Regions from separate parts of the Homo sapiens genome. Here region 2 is linked to region 1. Evidence: promoter capture Hi-C in human tissues and cell types (Jung and others, 2019). All regions are on one chromosome and are shown on one strand. Each heading gives the region's core, a stretch centred on a gene start or on the middle of the fragment in contact. The rest is flanking DNA. Distances are from core to core; before and after follow the strand shown. Region 1 holds the start of KRTAP19-8 (keratin associated protein 19-8). Region 2 overlaps LOC105372776 (a long non-coding RNA gene).

Region 1 (3,912 bases), core at 578-3,077:
CGGATCTAGGTTTCTGTAGCTCCCTTTGCAAGTCCTTCTTAGGTAGATTACCACCTTTCTTGGGGATGTGAGAGCTGTTGTCACTGATGATACAGGTTCTCAGCTAAAACTGAGTCCCATTTTACATCTTGTTTTGCTTTAATATTTATCTCTTAGTGAATACATATACTTTTAACTCTAAGACAAGAAAGAGTTGGGCTTCAACTTTCCACTTCAAAACTTTTGAACCTATTTTTGTTCTCCCCTCTCAGTTTTACATCTCTTGAACAATCAATGCAACAGGCATCTCCATTGTAATCTCATTGAGAATAAGTGGATGTGACTTTCAGTGTCCACTTGCTAATTTTAGTCCTTTGAGTTCTGGCCCAAAGGAAAGGAACAGACCAATCAGCATATAGATCAAAAATCAAAATGAGAAAGCTCACCAACCGAGAAAGCAAAGGAGCATTTTCATTCTTCTGTTGTGATAATACAATATTTCTTGCTTTTGCCTTTGTTGTACAACATCTATAAAAATGTGATGATGAAAAAAAACAGGTGAAAGTGAATGATTTAGGTTCTAGTCTGGGTTTTGTCACTCACTGGGTGATCTGACCAATCTTCTCCAATTCTGTTTCATCATCTGTAAAGTAAGAGGGTTACACCAGTTCTGATATTATATTATTCTATCTGAAGTGATTATTAATAGTATATAGAATAGTCGTACTGCTTATGTGCTTGAAATTGGTTTTGATACCAATGGCTAAGTAGAAGTGATTCTGACCCTTATCATGAACACTTCAGTGGGCTTCATTCTTCAAAAAGAAAATGTCATATTTAAGTATTTTTAATTTTACATATTTCTGTAAATTGTAGTTTAATTAAGGTTTCCTTAGAGAGCAGAAGATGGAATCCCAGAATTTGGAAAACAGCTTTTTAAAACCTCTTTGCTGATTGTGTTAGGAATTTAGTAAGGCAGAGAGGGCTGCCTGCCTACCTGTGACTGTGGAGTCAGATGGGTAGATCCAGTACTCAGATGTTAATCTCTTTAGAAGATTATTTTTTAAAAAGAAGATTACAAAGATGAAGAATATGGTATCACTTTGCAAAAATCACACCCACGGCTCTTGCCCCTAGTGTTATTTCCTATATAAACATTGAATAATGAAAAAGTCTTGCAGTAAGAGCTAAGAGCTATCAAAAGTTTCATAAACAACATTGAGTTAAAAGGGTAGTAATGTGTAAGGAAACAAAATTTTTCCATTTGGGTTTTTCTCTCTCTCTTAAAAAAATAAATGTGATCCTTTTGTGCTATCAGCTACATTTTGTTGGATTTATACAGTAAGTGTACCTCTTCTATTACTTCACTAACTTAAATAACAAAGATGAAGGGGAAAAACTCATGGGATTGGGAAGGGCAGTTCTTATTTACAGCCATATCTCTAGCTCTGAGCATAGTGCCTGGGATGCATTAGTTGGGCATTAAATATTTGTGCAAGGAATACATTAAGAATTGGATACTGGGAAGGGGCTGTAATGAAAGAACAATTTTAGGTGACAAAATGGGAGCTGATTGCTGCTCTTATGTCTGATTATAGAGCTTTAACTATGATGGTCAAAGCAAGAGGGCTTTGAAGACAGCATAATCATCCTGTGGAATCCAAACTGCACAGAAATCGAATGAAAACATCTTTAATTAGTGTCAGGAATTGTCCTACAGTTTTAAGATGAGTGAGTTTTTTTTCATGCAATTGAATCTACGCCATGAGAAGTCTACCCCACTAATCACTGAGGATGTATAAAAGTCCCAGGGAAGCTGGTGATAGTTGTACTCAGGAAACTTGCCCTTGACCTCCAAACACATCTACAGTTGCTGAACCATGAGCTACTACAGAAGCTATTATGGAGGCCTGGGCTATGGCTATGGAGGCTTTGGTGGCTGGGGCTATGGCTATGGCTGCGGCTATGGCAGCTTCCGCAGGTTGGGCTATGGCTGTGGCTACGGAGGCTATGGATTCAGCTGTTGCCGACCATTATACTACGGAGGATATGGATTCTCTGCCTTCTACTGAAGAGTGAACTCATTCTTTGGATCACTAGAATCTGTCTATCATCCTGACTTAATTCTCCTTTCAGGTCTTTTTACCCCCTCTGTGAATTGCGCAGCCACTTTCTTGATAAACCAGACAAAGCAGCAAAGGGTGCCTTGTGAACTCTTCAAAGTCAAGACTCAATTCTGGCAACAAACACAACAGAATCAGTGGCAGCAGCAAGGGGAGCCCTTCCTGTAGAATGACCTAGAATCCCACCTTTCAAGCTGTGAATCCCTCTCTTCCCTTATTAATATATCAACATGGCACCAACTCTTCTTCTATTTCAATAAACTAATTTTAATAGTAGAGCAAATTTGGTTTAATTTTTTTTTCTGTTTTACTGTGGTAAGAACACTTAACATGAGATCTACCCTCCTAACAACTGTTTGAGTCAACCATACATTATTGTCGACTACAGGTACCATACTGTATAGCTGATCTCTAAGGTCCGTTCACCTTGCCTGACTTAAACTTCATGCCTCTTTGTCAGTAACTGCCTATTTCTCCCTTCACCCAGCCCTTGGTAACTGCCATTCTACTCTTGGATTCTACAAATTTCACTCTTTTGGATGCCTCATGTAAAGTGGAATCGGGCAGTATTTGTCTTTCTGTGGCTGGTATATCTCACTTGGTTTCATTTCTATTGATTCATTTCACAGAACCAGACCCAAGCTTCCAGGATCTGTGTGTGTGTTAATTCACCATTGTATATTCTGTGGTCATGACAATACCTGGCATGTATAAGGCAGTCAAGAATATTTGTGGATTAAGAAACTTGCTCATCAGTGTTATAATATAAAATCATTTTTAATCTGTCCAGTGGTTTGGGGATAATTTGGGGATAATGGTGTTCTTTTATAGCTCTCCACCCTCTTCTCACCCCATTTCCTCTTATACACACACATACTCACACACTCTGGTCAAATATCTCCCACCCTAGGTGGAGTTTATTTTTGCCCCAGCAGCTGACAAAAAACCTCAACAGTAGCACTCCATATGTACACCCTTACAGGGTCAGGCAGAATGCCTTGCATTTTGTCAAGAAGCATAAATGAAAAATTATTTGCTTTCAAGGCAAGCTACAGATATTTGCCACATAACTGGAAAATGTGCACGTCTGGACTTCACCATAAACAACCTAATGTCTATCAACAGTATAATGGAAAAATAAATTGCAGTATAGTCTTACAATGGAATATTACACAGCAATGACAATGGCCAAACTAGAGCTATAGGCAACAACCTGGCTGAACCTCACGATCATAATGTGGAGTGAAAGGACCCAGGCATAGTAGAATAAATACAGTATGAGCCCATTTATTTAAGTTTTTAGACAAGAAAAACGACATTACAGGGTTAGAAGTCAGGATAGTCGTTACCTTTGGGAAGACAGTATTCATGGGAGGACTTGAGGGGGACTTCTGAGGTGCTGGCAATTTTCCATGTTTTGATCTGGAAGTGGTTACATGGAGGTTCTTTCTAAGTTATTAAATTTATGTTGTGTGTATTTTTCAGCATGTTTGTTATATTTCAATTTAAAATGGTCTAAAAATTGATAATATTCCATGATTTCAAAAGTGCCTTCTAGGAGCAGATAATTCAGATAGTTCAAATTTTTTTGAGGACCTACTTTGTATTACATGCTGGCTACGTCATATGGAAATTTCAAATGAATAATACATCGCTTTTGGTGTCAAGAAACTCAAAATATAGCAGCCCATAATAGAGACATAGGTGGGGAAGGGAGGTCTTTGAGAAGGGAGTGGTGAGTTTCTATTCCAAAATTTAGGAGATTAGGAAAGTTTCTCCTAATGTGTCTAAGCCTCAACTTTAGGATATA
Region 2 (4,000 bases), core at 310-2,809, 37 kb after region 1:
TAAAGTGTTATATACACCTGTTATCTCACCGATTCCTGAATGTAACGTGTGGGAATTATTTGCACCATTTTATAAATCAAGAAACAGAAGTTCAAGAGATAGAGGTGGGATGCCGAAGTGAGTTATAAAGTTGAATTTCAAACTTAGGTTCAGCTGACTCAAAGCCGGAGGTTACCCTACACTGCCTGGTATAATGAAGAGTGTTTCACTTTTCTCTGCAGTGGGGCAGATTCTAATTTCGTATTCTTGTAAGAGCCATATATAACTTAGCATGCGTGCACAATATAGTTAAAAAGATAAATGCATCTACTGAAATTCATGTTTAAAATGCACAAAGCCAGGGTACCTTTGAAATACTTTCTAAATGAAGCTCATTGCCCACCCCCTGCAGTTTAAAAAAATTATTTATTTTTCACTAAGCCAAGTTAAAAGCAGAGGAAAAGGATTTTAGTAGCAGATCATCTCCCAGAGGGGAGTGATTTGTCTTCATTAGTATTCCAATTTTTAGTATGCAAATTGTATGTACTTTTTTCTCTCTTCTTTATATTCGTGGCAAATTATAATTCACTCTCACTGAGGGAATGGCATGGAAAATGAAAAGAACCTAATCTTTAACATTAGTCAGACTTTCTCTGATTTGGGCGGAAGTGTAGGGGCCCGCCTCAAGGCATGGGGTCAGCTGAAAGACCTTTCGAGGTTTTCTTCTAGTCCTAGGAGTCATTTAATTATTCTCTTTTTCTGATTAGTTTTTCCCATCACATTTTAATATTTATGAAATTGAGAAGCACCTTACTATTGATCGAATGTTTAAAATTTTGGTGAATTGTTATTTCCTCCCATTTTTTGTTGTGTCTCACAATTGATGGTATCTTCAAATTGAGTAAATCTAGGAATCCTTGTTGGGACGCTCAGGAGCTGTTCTGATACCCTTTAGCTCTCAACTTCTAAGAAATGGGGGGCTGGCATCAAGGCTACCCTGGTTAACATTTCCTTCTAAATTTCCTTCTGGTTGACCAATGTCACAACCTTCCAACATCCTTTAGTTCTTATCTATTAAACAACATTATAGCAGTAATCAGCTGTTCCTTATATCTTAGAATATTCTTCCTTTGCTTAATAAATAGGGTCAGTGTGATTCGGAATGTTTTCTCAGCTATTGATGCTGCGCATGGAGAAGGCTGAAAGTCCAAGAAGTAGCAGTGAGCAACACAAGATCCCCACAGCTCCCAAGAGAAAACAGGCAGACCCTGAGCACAGACATCTCCGCGTTAGTGCCAGGCTGACGCCTCCTGGTTGGCGTGGTGATGGGAGGGGGCTAGATCAGGAGACAGTCTTGGGATGTCACCATGGGATGAGGGTTTCTCTTATTCTCCTCTTTGTGATGTAAGCCTGGCTCAGGTTGTCACTTTAGAGCTACGGTAAGGATGGTCATCCCTGAGGTCCCTTTGAGGATCTTCATGACATCAACATGTCTTCCCTATTTCTGTGTGTGAAACTGATCTTTGTTTCCTCGTGTTACTTCAGGATCCCAATAGCCATGGGCTCTCGGTAACATCTTCATGATGCTGGCGTGTGATAGGTTTATTTATTCCTTTTCTTCCTGCTGTCACTACCCTTGCCTTCCCAGTGTTTATTTTGCATGCCTTAGCACAGACCCTGGCCAGCTGAGTTACTATTAGATGCAATAGGATCTATCTTTTATTGTATCTGGTGGGATAAACCCTCTACCTGGTCAACATCTCAGATTGCCAAGAATTTAAATAATACTTTATTTTTTGAGACAGAGTCTCTGTCGCCCAGGGTGGAGAGCAGTGGCACAATCTCGGCTCCCTGCAACTTCTACCTCCCAGGTTCAAGCGATTCACGTGCCTCAGCAAGTGAGTAGCTATCTGAGTAGCTGGGGTTAAAGGGATGTGCCACCACGCCCAGCTATTTTTTTTTTTTATTTTTAGTAGAGACAAGGTTTCTCCATGTTGCCCAGGCTAGTCTTGAACTCCTGGCCTCAGGTGATCTCCCAAAGAGTTGGGATTACAGGCGTGAGCCATGGTACCCTGCCAGTAATACTATTTATAATGCAGCTGCACACAGATTAACGGGATGCCGAAGGAGACATTTCCTATTGTCAGGGCTTTCAGCTAAAGTCCCAAAGCTGAGGATAATAAGCAGTAGGTGTTTCCATATCTTAAAGGGAATGCTAGGAGGTGGCAAATTCCTCTTCCAAATGCCTCACTAAAGAAGAGTGGATTGTTGTGCTACCCCCACACTCTATGTAAAGAGAAGACTAGATTTCATGACATTTCATTCAAGAAGAGCATTGGTAGAAAGGGGGATTCATGGAAAGAGTGGTTACTGATCTAGCAAGAGGTCTTAGGCAGTGAGGCTCTGTTCCCTCCTTATGCTGCCTGAGGGCCAGGGCTCCAGGTCGCCTTTTGGAGATAGGAGCATGCCAACAAGAGCGGAGACTGATTTAGTGACTGGAGGCCTGCTTAGCTGAAGAAATCCAAAGATCCGTCTCCGTGTGGTAGGGGGTGGTGAGAACCTTCTTGGGAGAATGTGACACATTTCCCGGAGTCTGTGCATGCACGTGAGTTTATGAGCTTGTACCTCTTGCTTGCTTTCATAACTGTGGAGAGGGAAGGCTGATAAGAGCAGTTTGTGATGTCAGGAAGTTGAGAGAAGGCAGCTGGGAGGGTGACACTCACACCTTTTGTCTGGTACAAATGTATGCATTCCTATGGACCAAATGAAATAATGGGCGATAACCTGGCAAAAGTGCCTTGAGGATACAATGGCCAAGAGGATATCCTGCGGTGGTCAGGGAATTACAGCAGTAACAGTTGTGTGGATGCACTGTTAGGGCAGGAACTGGAGACAGCAGAGCAGATCGCCCCTATAGGGGACCTACCAGGGTAAAGTTCCCTGCAGGCTTTTGAAAACTCTTCCATGCACCCCAAGAAAGAGCCAGTATGTGGACATCTCCCAGTGGGTAACTCACTAGCACCCGGGAGGAGGGACGTGTGCCTCTTCTTCTCTGATCTGGTTCCCACCTGCCTGGCTCTGGAGGAACAGGTGTCAGGACAGGGAGGGAGAAGAGAGAGTATGGCCCCCATTACACATCCCCACTCCAGGGCCAGGCTTGTGTTGTGACATGGACCTGAGGCTGAAGTTTAAGTTACATTAGTGAGTCATGTCTGCAGAAATCAATTTATAAGAAGGCCCTTCTTACCACTGCAACTGACCAATAAGCTCCTTTGCCGTCAAGAACTGGGAACAGGACTCAGACCAGGTACGTTGGAAGGAAGTGCTTGGAGAAAAATGAAACCTATTTCAAAAGAAGCTCATCAATGTCAGATGTTCAATAAGCTCATCACTTAGCTTGGGTCACGATGACATTTGGGACAAGCCATCAACAGGCGTTGCATGGCCTTCCTGAGCTACATCTACTGTTAAAGGATTTGAGGGCCTGGGTGTTAATTAAAGCCTCCTCATGTCTGCTCAGAAGACATTACTAATCCTTCTCAGAGCGAAGGATTATGAATTGTTATCAAAATAACCACAACTTGTATCTTATATTTAATTTACTATATTCAGGCACTTGTGCTAAAATCTTCACATGTTTTTATCCTCACAATTACCTAGGAAGTAGAGATTCATTATTCTCATTTAAAGATGAGAAATTGGGCCTGGTGTGGTGGCTCATGCTTGTAATCCCAGGACTTTGGGAGGCTGAGGTGGGCAGATTGCCTGAGGTCAGGAGTTTGAGACCAGCCTGGCCAAGACGGCAAAACCCCATCTCTGTGAAAAATTCAAAAATTGGCTGCGTGTGGTGGCACCGGCCTGTAGTCTCAGCTACTCGGGAGGCTGAGGCAGGAGGATTGCTTGAACCCAGGAGGTGGAGGTTGCAGTGAGCCAAGATCACGCCACTGCACTCCAGCCTGGGTGATAGAGCGAGACTCTGTCTAAAATAAAATAAAATAAAATAAAATACGATAAAATAAAA

The links. Contacts are between HindIII fragments. The study calls those that stand out against the background at their distance.
Region 2: a fragment that was not itself captured here is called in contact with the fragment with the promoter of KRTAP19-8 in region 1 in 1 of the 25 tissues and cell types used here (adrenal gland).

Annotation. Positions count from the first base shown.
Region 1 is chr21:31,036,391-31,040,302 of GRCh38, reverse strand. KRTAP19-8 (keratin associated protein 19-8) reads left to right here and starts at 1,827. Exons shown (of 1, transcript NM_001099219.1): 1 at 1,827-2,144. The coding sequence starts at 1,860. The coding sequence ends at 2,051. RefSeq lists an enhancer at 948-1,117. The HindIII fragment of the contact is 7,103 bases long and covers 1-3,912 here.
Region 2 is chr21:30,999,071-31,003,070 of GRCh38, reverse strand. All of the region lies in intron 1 of LOC105372776 (a long non-coding RNA gene), which reads left to right. Among named protein-coding and RNA genes, the nearest start is that of KRTAP19-8, 37 kb to the left of the region's middle. The HindIII fragment of the contact is 6,939 bases long and covers 1-4,000 here.